Linked DNA regions of Homo sapiens: region 1 is linked to region 2. The links are contacts of gene promoters, found by promoter capture Hi-C in human tissues and cell types (Jung and others, 2019). All regions are on one chromosome and are shown on one strand. Each heading gives the region's core, a stretch centred on a gene start or on the middle of the fragment in contact. The rest is flanking DNA. Distances are from core to core; before and after follow the strand shown.

Region 1 (6,582 bases), core at 2,069-4,568, 330 kb after region 2:
TCCATCTCAAAAAAAAAAAAAAAATCAGCCTACTACATTTCATTAAAATGGTATATGACCTCTCAAAAGCAATAATGAAAGTCAGAAGACAGTGAAAATTATCTGCAATGTAGTGAATTGAACAATTACTGCCAAACTAGAATTCTCTACTCAGCAAAAATATCCATCAAGTAAAAAGTTAAAATGAGATCATCTTTAGTTAAACAAAATTTGAGAAAGTTTGTCACCAGCAGACACTCACTAAAAGAAATGCAAAATGGTAGAAAATGCAGATGGAGAGAAATCTCAGTTGGAAGTGTTGAGATATAAAAAAGAAAGTTGAGCAAAAAAAGTATCAAATATGTGAGTAGATAAACATTGACTATATAAAAAATTATTAATAATGTTATAAGGGATTAATAAAACATGATGGAATTTAGTACCAAATGACAGCCAGGATCTGTAAATTGGAAGAGGAGTACATGGAGTTGAAGTATCTGAAGGTTCTCATGTTATAAGGGAGGAAGATAAAAATTTTGAGTTCAGTTGAATACACACACAATGATTTCTCAAGAAGCCATTAGGATGAGAGGCAGGCCCAATGCAGAATTGACAGAAGATGGAATAGTTTAAAGAAACATTCTTTTTTAAAACATTTTTTAAAAATTAAAACATTTAAATAGTTTAAGAGAGAGAAAAAATAGCATTGGATAAGTGTACAACTAGGAGGTACAAGGTAGGATGGAGGGTTAGAGCTAAAGTATATTGATCATTGCATTGAATATGGATTAAGTGGATGTTCCCTTTGGAAATGAGATTGTCAGACTAGATGGAAGAACAGAATCTCATTGAGTGTTCTTTAGAGGAGATAATCTAAAAACTAATAATCAAAACATTGTTAGTAAAAATGATAGAAAAAGATGTATGACATAAATACACAAATATTCATAATAGCATTATTTGTAAACTTAAAAAACGATGACCCCAATACACATCAACAGCAGAATGAATAAATAAATTGTGGTATAATTAGACAATGACATACTTTTCACCAATTAAAATAGATGGACTATTGAGAAACATATCAACAAGCATGAATATCATAAATACAATGTAGTGCAAAAAATAGAAAATGAAACTGTCTTGTTTAGAGATGCACACATAAGTGATGCAGCTATAGAGAAAAACAAGGAATTGATTAAGGCAAAACTCATGGTGGTGGTTATCTCTCAGGGGAAGGAGAAAAGCCGAATTGGGGCTGGACAAAACATGGAAGGGCTCTGGGGTTCTGGAATGTTCTGTTTTGACCTAGTGGTGGTAACTTGAGTGTATTCATTCAATAAATATTAACTACACATGAAAATTTCTCTATGTGTGACATATTACACGTTAAATAACATGTTAAAAATAAGAACTTGTTAGTAGATGTTTGTAAGGTCTGTCTAATGAAATTAATACACAAGTCATTTCGAATTTTTTTCAATACCCTTTCTTTCCTCTGTCTTCATAGCAGCTCTTCGACAAATAATACAGAAGGCTTTTTTAAAAAGCCATTGCCTTTAAAAAAATTTTTCATTTACAAATAATTGTGTATATTTATGGGGTACAGTGTGATATTATGATACATGTATACCTTGTGGAATGGCTAAATCAGGCTAATTAACATATCTATCACGTCACATACTTATCATTACTATGGGGTAAGAATATTTAAAACCTATTCTTTTAGTAATTTTGAAATCTACATTACATTAACTATATATATTTTTATTTATATATGGATATACATACTCATTATTAACTATAGTCACCATGCTATGCAAAGACCAATATAAGTTATTTCTCCTGTCTAATTAAACTTTGTACTCTTTGACTAACATCTCCTTTACCCCCATCCATCTTCTTCAAAACCCACAGCTTCTGGTAACTAGCATTCAACTCTCTACTACTGTGTGTTCAACTTTTTTAGATTCCGCATATAAGTGAGATCACGTGGCATTGGTCTTTCAGTGTCTGGTTTATTTCACTTAGCATACTGTCTTCCAGGTGAATCCACGTTGTCACAAATGACAGAATTTCCTTCTTTTTTAAGGTTGAATAATATTTCATTGTGTATATATACCACATTTGCGTTATCCATTTATCCATTAATGGGAATTTATGTGGTGTCCATATCTTGGCTATTGGGAATAATGTTGCAATAAGCACAGGAGTGCAGTTATCTCTTTGACATACTGATTTCAGTTCCTTTGGATATATACCCAGAACTGGGATGCTAATCATATGATAATTCTATTTTTAGTTTTTTGAGGAACCTCCCTGCTGCTTTCCAAAATGACTACACTCATTTACATTCCCATCAACAGTGTACAAGGGTTCTCTTTTCCCCACATCCTCACCAATATTTGTGATTTTTTTTTCTTGAGATAGTATCACTTTTTTGATAACAGCCAGTTTAACAGATGTGCAGTGACCTCTCATTCTGGTTTTAATTTGCATTTCCCTGGTGACTAGTGATGTTGAACATTTTTTCATATTCATGTTGGCCATTTGTATGTCTTTTGAGATATGTCTGTTCAGGACATTTCACCATTTTTTAACAGGTCTAATTTTTTCTTGTCATTGAGTTGTGTGTGTTGCTTGTTTATTTTAAAACATATTAGGCCTTTATGAGATGTATGATTGGCAAATATTTTCTCCCAGTGTCTTTTCACTTTGTTAATTGTTTTCTTTGCCATACAGAAACTTTTTAGTTTGATGCAATTCACATTTGTCTATTTTTGCATTTGTTGCCTGTACTTTTGGGGTCATATCTAAGAAATCATTGCCCAGACCATTGCTTTTCCCCTAGGTTTCCTTCTAGTAGTTTTATAGTTTCAGGTCTTGCTTTAAGTCTTTAATTTCTTTTGAGTTGATTCTTGTACATAGAGGGAGATAAAGATTCACTTTCATTTTTCTGCATGTGGATATCCAATTTTCCCAACACCATTTATTAAAGAGACCATTCTTTCTTCACTATGGGTTCTTGGCACTTTGTCAAAAATCAACTGACCATCAATGCATGGGTTGATTTCTGGACTTCCTATCCTGTTCTATTATTGGTCAATGTATCTGGTTTTATGCCAGTACCATGCTGTTTTGATTACTATAGCTTTGTAATATAAATTGAGATTAGGTGCTGTGATGTCTCCAGCTTTGTTCTTTTTGCTCCAGATTGCTTTGGCTATGTGAAGTCTTTTGTGATTTCTCACAAATTTCAGGATAGCTTTTCTATTTCTGTGAAGATTGATATTGGAATTTTGGTAGAGATTGCACTAAACCTGTAGAATGCTTTGGATAGTATGTACTTTTACAATATCAATTTTTCTAATCCATGAACATGGAGTATCTTTCCATTCCTGTGTGCCTTTGCTGTTTGATTAGGTTTAGTGCACTGAAACCTCCATTTTCAAGGCTTGATGGCATGGTAAGAAATAAAACAGAAATAAACTAGATGATATACCTGTGGTCTGGCAATCAGAACAATTGCTTTTAGATAACTAGAATTGATATTTGACTGATGTTTGTTCCCTCTCTCAACACACTCTCAATGACTTCTAATCCTGGAGTTTCAGCCCCTCACTTCACAGAAGGTGCTGAGAACACTTGACTTTGGAGCCTCTCAGCAGGGAACAGGCTGGCACCGTGAAGCCACATTCTTTGTATCAGGGATTGTGTACCCTGAGTTTATGTAAATCTTTTGCTTTGTTTCTTTGCTAATTCAGGAAGTATACCAATTCCTGTCAATCCTTGAACCTAAACCTGAACCTTAAACTTTATGGTCTGTTCTAAGCTCTGAAGACTTAAGCTGTTTTGTTCTGTTTTAAAGTTTGGTCTCAACCAGGTGCAGTGGCTCATGCCTGTAATCCCAGCACTTTGGGAGGCCAAGGTGGGTGGATCACAAGGTCAGGAGTTCAAGGCCAGCCTGGTCAAGATGGTGAAACCCCATCTCTACTAAAATTACAAAAAAATTAGCCAGGCATGGCGGCGGGCCCCTGTAATCCCAGCTACTTGGGAAGCTGAGGCAGAGAATTGCTTGAACCCGGGAGGCAAAAGTTGCAGTGAGCCAAAATTGCACCACTGTACTACAGCCTGGGTGACAGAGTAAGACCCTGTCTCAAAAAAAAAAAAAAAAAAAAAAAAAGTTTGGTGTCCGCTTTAACCATCAAAGACTGAAGCACTGCTCCTCAGAAAAGATGGCAAGAGAATAGGGTTTTTCCTTTTCCCAAGCTACTGCATGGGAAAGCTACTGCAAGTTGAAAGCAGTCAGTATTAGTCCAATTTTGCATTGCTATAAAGAAATATCTGCAACACGGTAATTTATAAAGAAAGAAGGTTTAGTTGGCTCACAGTTCTACAGGCTATACTGGAAGCATGATGCTGGCACATGCTCAGTTTCTTGGGAGGCCTCAGGAAGCTTACAATCATGGTGGAAGGTGAAGGCGGTGCAGGCAGGTCACATGGCCAGAGCAGAAGCAAGAGAGAAAGTAGGGAGGTGCTACACACTTTTAAACAACCAGATCTAAGAAGAAGTCACTCACTATCACTAGGATAGTACTGAGGGGGATGATGCTAAACCATTCATGAGAAATCTGCCTCCATGATCAAATCACCTCCCACCAGACCCCACCTCCAACATTGGGGATTACATTTTAATATGAAATTTAGGTGGGGACACATTCAAACTATATCAGCTGGAGACCACTAGAGCATAGCAGCCAGTCTTGATCTGGATTTGTGATGATATTTCTTGGGCTTAATTAGCTTTATCCATGAGGAAATAAAGAGAGAGATTATTGTTCAAGATCCTTAGAAAAACTGAAAATATTCTGTTTCTGGATTCTGTTGTAAATTATCTTTGAGGTGAAAAGTTTATCTGTAAGTCACAATTATGAAGCCAATTGTAAATCCCAGAGATGTCAACTATTCAAAGCAGTTGATAATAGTATAAGGAAATAAAACATGTTGCCCACAGAGCATGAATATTGGTACCATAATGGCACTTCTTAGCTCTGATGATCATATGGAAATCATAAGAACAGACGAATTTCTGATTCTCTCCTATTGCTATGTTGACTTGCTTATGAAATCCCTAATAGAGAAATGCAGAATTTTGAGAAAATTATCTGGAAGCTAAGTAGAGTAAAAAAAGTAATGATAAGCCAAATAATAGAAGTGAGAACACCCTGGAATAAATGAAGTTTTATTATACATTACACATATTTATTAAAGTATTAATGACTCTGGAATATCCATGCTTATGAATAGTTTACATATATTATTATATATGTTATATATGTAATTTTTTGCTCCTGTGAAAGCAATTTGGCTCTTCTACTAATCAGAAGAAATATTTATTTTTCAGAAACTGTGATGGGTACAAAAGCTCCTGAAAAAGTATTATTAGGTTCATATGATAGATGAGGAAACCAAGACTCAAAGAATTTAAGAAATTTTCTTCAGGTTAACCAATAGTTGCTGCAGAGCAGAAATTTCATTTCTACTCTAAATTGAAAAGCCCATGTCGAACTGGCAAATTGATTGATTTCACAAGGGAATCGAATAGACAAATCACTTAGTAGAAGATAGGCTGATATAAATAAGGTAAGAGGTAACATATGATCTCATTAGATTTCTTTTGTACCTCAGCTTTGAAATAATGTTCTATAACCACTATTTGAAAATTTAAAAGAAGTCGAGCATCTGTATATGAGGCCAAACTCATTATTCTACTTTAAATCTAGGAACTTCAGTTTCCATTACTCACTGACCCCAAATTATTGTCTGGCCTATTTTATCGCTTTTTCATTAATTTGTGAAACATTTGAATGCAAAATGTCTCATTGGTTATTTAGGTTTCAATCTAAAAGTAGAATTAATTAGATTAAAAAATCTCGATAAATATTGCCAAATTAATAAAGAAAATTGTACCAGTTTACACTGTTACTAACAATGTAATAAGACTACCCTACTCACTGTGTCCCCTTGCTTTTGCCATTTTGTCAGACTTTGCTAATTGAGTCAGGAAAAAAATGTAAGTGTGTGTGTGGTCACTTCCTTTGTTTTGTAACTCTGAGAGTGAACATAGTAACTATTTACATATTATTCATTTTGTATTTATAAAGTATTCATATTTATATATTCATATATGCTTATTCATATATATATTTTGCTTTATTTATATTTACGTTTCATGGTAGTTTAACTGTTGTGGTTCACTATTCTTTTCTTTAAAGAGCACTTTATATATTAAAATATCAGTGACTTTTTTTATCCCATGTTTGGCAAATGTTTTTCCAATAGTTTTTTTCCTGTTGTTTTTTAGATTTTTTTTTTTACTTACAGAAATGTTAAACACCATTGAGGTTAAAATAATTATTTCTGATTTTTATATTTTGATTTTCATTAATTAACTCATTAACACATTTGAGATCAATTTCTGGTTTTCCCCAAATATTTAATCAATTTTCCTGGAACATTTATTGCATTCTTTTTTTTTCTTCCTTGCCGATTTATAGTATATCTGAATTTTTCCATCATACAATATTTTGCTCATTTTCTTAC
Region 2 (6,367 bases), core at 72-2,571:
GTTCCCAGTGGTCAAAGCTGGAACCATTTGAGCAACAAAATTAATAATGTAGTATTGAATTCTAGCCCAAAGTATAAAATAAATATACATGGGTCCATACTGACATAACAAATACTGACATAAATGATTGAATAAACAAGAGAGATGGAACAAATCTTCCTTACAGAATCATTCTAAATAATAACATATAGATACTCCCTGCTCTGGGATGGAGTTTAATCTTGCCCTCATCTTGAGTGTCAGCTGAATTGAGTCATGCCATTCATGCCATTCAGAGTAGAGTGTATGGAAAGAGAAAAACAGCTTTGCAGTAGAGAAACCTGGCAGACACAACCTTAACTATGGGATCAAGGTCAAGTCACCAGTGATAAGTCACCTGGCCATCGTGCCATCGTCCCTGAGAGGATGCAGTGGGGAAGGCACTTCATCTCTGAGTCTTTCCTCCCCCCAGTCTCATCATGAGAAAAAAACAGTAGACAATACCCACATGAGTGGGTGTCGAGGTACCCCCACAAAACTATACCTTACCAGAATACTTCATCACAATACTTTACTAGAATTCTTTACAGCTGTCAAAGTCAAGAAAAGACAGAGAAACTGTCATGGATTAGAGGAGACAAAGGGCACAGGATGCTAAATGCAGTGTGGTATCCTGGCTGGGATCCTGAAAGGGAAAGGCGTTAGCCAAAAAGCTAGTGACAGCTACATCAAGTCTGGAGTAGTGTTAATAGTGGCAGATCAATGTTAATGTCTTTTAAAAAATATTTTTAGTAGAAATGAGGTCTCGCTATGTTGCCCAGGCTGGTCTCGAACTCCTGAGCTCAAGCGATCCTCCCGCCTGCCTTGGCCTCTCAAAATGCTGAGATTACCAAGGCGTGAGCCACCGCACCTGGCCCAATGTGAATTTCTTAGTTTTGACAAATGTGCCACAGTTATGGAAGCTGTAGGCATTAGGAGACACCGACTGAGGGGTATATAGACGACTCTCTCTACTATCTTTGCAACTTTTTTTAAGTTCCAAAAGAAAGTTTTTTAAAAAAACAACAAAATTGCACTTGTACTCCATAAATTTATACTAAAAACAATAAAATCAAAAATTATTTAAAAAACAAAAACAAAAGTTTATAAACTTAGGGTGCAAATAGAACCTTCTTGAAAAGCAGCGGCCGATCCCCTCCCCCCACCCGCCTGTACAGCACCCTAGCGAGGGGCGTGAGGGGCAGAGCCTGGCTCTCCAGCGCTGGGCGTACGCGTCCTGCCGCGACTCCTCCCCGGGGCCTCACCGGCGCCGGACTCTGCCCTGGGCGCGCCCCGCGGGGCGGAGCCAAGCCTGCGGGCGGTGGCGGCTGCACTCGCAGGGCCCTGGCAGCCGACCCTGGCCCCAAGGTCCGATCGCCCAGGGGAGGAGCAGCACCGGGACCCCGCGTCGGCTGGGCGCCCCACAAGGTAGGCGAGTCTGGCCACCTTCGGGCCCGGTCCCTGCGGCGCGCCCCCGCATCCCCTCCATGTGTGTGGGTGTCCAGGTGCCTTTCCAGCGGCTTCCCCAGTGGAGTTCCTGGCATCAAGGACATTTCCTGTAAAAGGGTCCTTGTTGAAGAGGTAATCCTCCCTGGAAACCTCGGTTCTGGGCTCGAATTTCCTGGGCGAGAAGTTTCTTCCCCATTGGGAAGAGCTGCTTTTCCGCAGAGAGGAACCCCTACTTAGTCCGGCGCACACCTGATTATTTATTTAGGTTGTTGTTATACAATCCGTTTGTCAGGGGTCCCCGCGATTTCTGCCTGCTAATTTCAGAGGCTATGGAGAAAAGTCCTGCGGTAAACGCCCTGACCTAGGAACTCCAGCGTGGTGGCTTTGACAGGTCACTGCGCTCGCATTTTTTAAAGAGCAGAGATGAATGAAGGTGGCTGTCTTCATTCATTTGTGCGGGCTTCTGCAGCCGCAGGTGTAGTAAAAAGAGCAGCCCATTGCTTGACCTTTTCCTTAATGTTGAGTAGCATCATGATATTTTAGATGTGGAAGTTACAGAGTGCTAGGCGGCTAGACAAAGGAACACTCTTATCTTACTGAAGGTTAGTACGGGACCGTGCAAGTGTAGTTTTTAGATTGGATGATAACATAGCTGTGAATTTTCAGCCTTTTTGGAAGTGAAGACAAAATTGAATATAAGGATCAGAACAAGCAACAAGCCCTGAACATAACTGAAGGTGTACCTGCTCCCCATTATATTCTGATTGTTTTATTTTAGGAATCAAAACCTCTTTTACTTTCTTGGTGTATATAGTTCGGATGAAGTGTCAGAATACAAAAAGGAATTATTCTGTGTTTGTGATAGGGAGGAGATAATCTGTTCTTTTGATTTTACCTAATGCCATTAAATATTCAGAGCTACTGAAGTCTGGTTTTCCTGATATGTGAGCTGGGCAGGAGTGTCAGGTACCCTGGCAGACACAATTGGTGCTGTTGTTATGCTTTTCCCCCGCTGCCCACTCTCTTCCCCACCCCACTCCCAATTTGAGAGGGAAGGCCCCTGACACAGAGGAATTTCTGCCCAAGGCAGGGAGTATCCCCGTGTGGTTCCTCAAATGTTTGCAGAAAGAATGAAAACAACTACACTTCTTGGGACCCAGGCCAACGTCATAAGGCCGACGTCATAAGAAGGTTCTTTCCTCTTGTTATTTACAAAATAAATTGATCCCTTGTCCTAACTAGAAAGAGACTTTTGAAATTAATACTGTTGCTATTTTGTGAATTACTGATAGGCATGTTATTTGTTAGCTTATTTGTTTACAGTATGCTCAACATTGAAGGTGAGTTGTAATCCAAATTTTGGCCAAAGCTAAAAAATGTAAGCTAGATTTAGACAAACCTGAAAAATGAGGTGTTTATTTGCTTGGAATAATGACTGAAAGGGGAAATAACTGAAGATTTTGATGGGAATGTAAAAGTCTTTTAAAATAGTAGTTTCTCATCTTTAGAACTGAGATATTTACATCAAAATTATATGGCTATTTATTGATTGAAAACATTTCATAATGGCAAAATTTTACCATGAATTTACTAACACGTTTAAATGAATGTCATTTACTAAGCACAAAAACAGCCATTTATATAGGTTTGGAAAATGAGAGAGAGAGAGAGAGAGAGAGAGAGAGAGTGTGTGTGTGTGTGTGTACATTGTTTTAGAAACTATTTGGTACATCTGTAAATTTGTGGGCCTATTCATGTATTCATTGAAACAATATTTATTGAGGACACTGTGTTCTGTGTGGGAGAACCAGATGGGAGGGGAAGTAGGGTCTGGGCCAAACACAGCCCTGTGTAAATCAGACACATTTCTATCCTCCTGGAATTTACTACATTGGAGTCCTCCAGGCCACCCCAAGTCAAGGCCATAGATTTACAGACCACATAAATGATCCATTCAATTTCGACAGTGACTAAAACTAGATTAGTTTCAAATCACATATTTCCTTTCACTGATTTAAAAAGTCAAGTCTAAAAATGATAGAGGAGCTTGCATGTTATTCTGCTCAGTGGTTTTCTCTTTTGTTTAGGTTGGGGAAGAACTTAGGAATCATGTGTTCCAGGCTTAATGTTATGAAATATTAACTTAAAATAGCTAAGTATCAATTTCATGCAAATTAAATAAAAACTAAACTTGTAGTATGGATGACAATAATCTAGAGACAAAAATTAATGAACAAAAAATTTAAAACTGAAAAACATCTATCCATTAAATTATATTTTTTCCTATAAATTAGAAAAATAAGACTACAGTTACATTCACCCCACCCCCAGAGGAAAACAGCATCTTTATTCAAGTTATTCTTACTTTTCCTTCTGTATTTTTTTTTAAAAAAGCTTTATTGGAGGTATAATTTACATACCATAAAATACATCCAAGTGTATAATTCAATGATTTTTGGTAAATTTACTGAATGGTGCAACCATTAGCACAATCCAATTTTAGATCACTTCATCATTCCCCAAATATCCCTGGGGCCTGTTTGCAATCACTCACCGTTCTTACCCCAGCCCCAGCAACCCCTAATCTATTTTGTCTGTTTAGATCTGCCTTTTCTGGACATTTCATACAGATGGAATCGTACAATATATAGTCTTTAGCATCTGGCTTTTTTCAGTTAGAATAGCTGTTGAGGTTTATTCAGGTTGTCACATGTAGCTGTAGTTGGTTCCTTTTTATTGCTTAACTAGGATTTATTCCATGCCATGGCTATGCCGCATTTTGTTCACCATTTGGTAGACCTTTCTGCAAATACTTTTGCATGGTAAAACAGATACATTGGTGCAGCTTCTATGGTAGCATAATGTGAGAATAACTGATATGAGCCAACCTCTTATTTGGTGCTTTGACTCTCTTCTATGATAATTTTAAATATGAATGCCAAGAGTTAAACATCCAGGTTCCTATTAAGCAGTGGTGTTTTCTGTGTGTAACTCTCCAACAAACCAATGTTAAGAACTTCTTACCTTGGCTGGGCACAGTGGCTCACACCTATAATCCCAGCATTTTGGGAGGCTGAGCTGGGCAGATCACGAGGTCAGGAATTCGAGACCAGCCTGACCAACATGGTGAAACCCCATCTCTACTAAAAATACAAAAATCACCTGGGCGTGGTGGCATGCGCCTGTAATTCCAGCTACTCGGGAGGCTGAGGCAGGAGAATCGCTTGAACCAGGGAGGCAGAGGTTGCAGTGAGCCAAGATTGCACCATTGCACTCCAGCCTGGGCAACAGAGCAAGACTCGTCTGAACTTCTAATTTTCCCCAGCAATTTGGGAGGCTGAGGCAGGTGGATCACCTGAGGTCAGGAGTTGGAGACCAGCCTGGCCAACATGGTAAAACCCCTTCTCTACTAAAAATGATTTTTTAAAAATTAGCTGTGTGTGGTGGCATGCGCCTGTAATCCCAGCTCCTGGGGAGGCTGAGGTAGGAGAATTGCTTGAACCTGGGAGGTGGAGGTTGCAGTGAGCTGAGATGTCACCACTGCACTCCAGCCTGGGCAACAGAGCGAGACTCTGCCTCAAACAAACAAACAAACAAACAAACAAAAAAGAACTTCTTAACTTTGCAAGAACATTGACTTTTGGTATACCTCTGTTAGGAATCAGGAAACTGGAATAGCAGTTCCCAGCCAGAATTGTTTTCTTATATATCTCCACTGACCTTGCTTTGTGCTAACTATTATGGCAAATGCATTTTGAGTGGTGGGGGCGGGTCATGCTTCACAACTTATGCTTAAATATCCTCTTAGGAAGATTTCTCTAGTAGAACAGAAATCCTTTTATAAAAATCTAGCCAGTTCTGTGAGCCTAAAAAGAAGACAGTGTCTCTCTGAGTGCCCTTAAGTTACTACTCAAATTGCAAATTCCTTTTGGGGGAAAAAAAAGAGCATCAAAATAACTTGAGGTCTGTTTGTGTGTGTGTGTGTTTTTCAAGACGGGGTTGTATTCTGTCACTGACGCTGGAGTGCAGTGTCAGGATCCTAGCTCACTGAAGCCTCAAACTCCTGGGCTCAAGTGATCCTCCTGCCTCACTCAGCCTCCTGTATGGCTGGGACTACAGGAATGTGGCACCATGCCTAGCTAATTAAATTTTTTTTTTCATAGATGGGGCATCACTGTGTTACCCAGACTGGCCTCCAATTCCCAGCCTTAAGCAATCCTTCCACCTTGGCCTCCCAAAGTGCTGGGATTATAGATGTGAACCACTGTGGCCAACTTTTGAAGTCTATTTTATTGGCAATTTAGAATGCAAACTATTTTTTTTAACATCTACAATTTGAAAAGAAGATAATGTAGGTTAAATAATATAGTTTTCCAAAGCTGAATGTCTTCATTTGCAACTCATTTTTTTCTGCTTGAAATGTCAAACAACTTCCTAAAACTCCTAGATGAGAATACTACTACTGTTTTGATGATCTGTTTGTGATTGGATGGAGTAATCAATCTTGTTTGGTAATACACCTTTGTTTCCTTGGTAAGGATTTTTAAAATTCTAAAACAAATGCATTTTTTTTCTAGCCTTATACTCACGATTTTATAGCAAGTATCTCCTAAGAGGTATTTACCATCTACAGGAATCCACCTTCATCATTCTCACTTTCATATACTCCAGGGATCAGGATCAGGGCAGAGACATTCACCAAGCTATGTTGGTTTATCAAGAGAAAGAAGGCTTGATTAGTATTGAGCTGTAAGCACCTGCTATTTATTTTGATTAGGTCACTTACATTGTTGTGATCTGATACAAGGAACTTAGTTTTACCCAAAGTGGGAAGCTGCCTCTGACTCTTCTATCTTTCTATAAACACCTGGATTTTGGTAGGATGCTGCTCTTGGATAAG

The links. Contacts are between HindIII fragments. The study calls those that stand out against the background at their distance.
Region 1: a fragment that was not itself captured here is called in contact with the fragment with the promoter of CCDC68 in region 2 in 1 of the 25 tissues and cell types used here (hippocampus).

The regions. Positions count from the first base shown.
Region 1 is chr18:54,624,044-54,630,625 of GRCh38, reverse strand. No RefSeq gene overlaps it. Among named protein-coding and RNA genes, the nearest start is that of DYNAP, 36 kb to the right of the region's middle. The HindIII fragment of the contact is 9,961 bases long and covers 1-6,582 here.
Region 2 is chr18:54,954,415-54,960,781 of GRCh38, reverse strand. CCDC68 (coiled-coil domain containing 68) reads left to right here and starts at 1,321. Exons shown (of 12, transcript NM_025214.3): 1 at 1,321-1,446. It also overlaps the pseudogene MAP1LC3P. The HindIII fragment of the contact is 9,753 bases long and covers 1-5,422 here.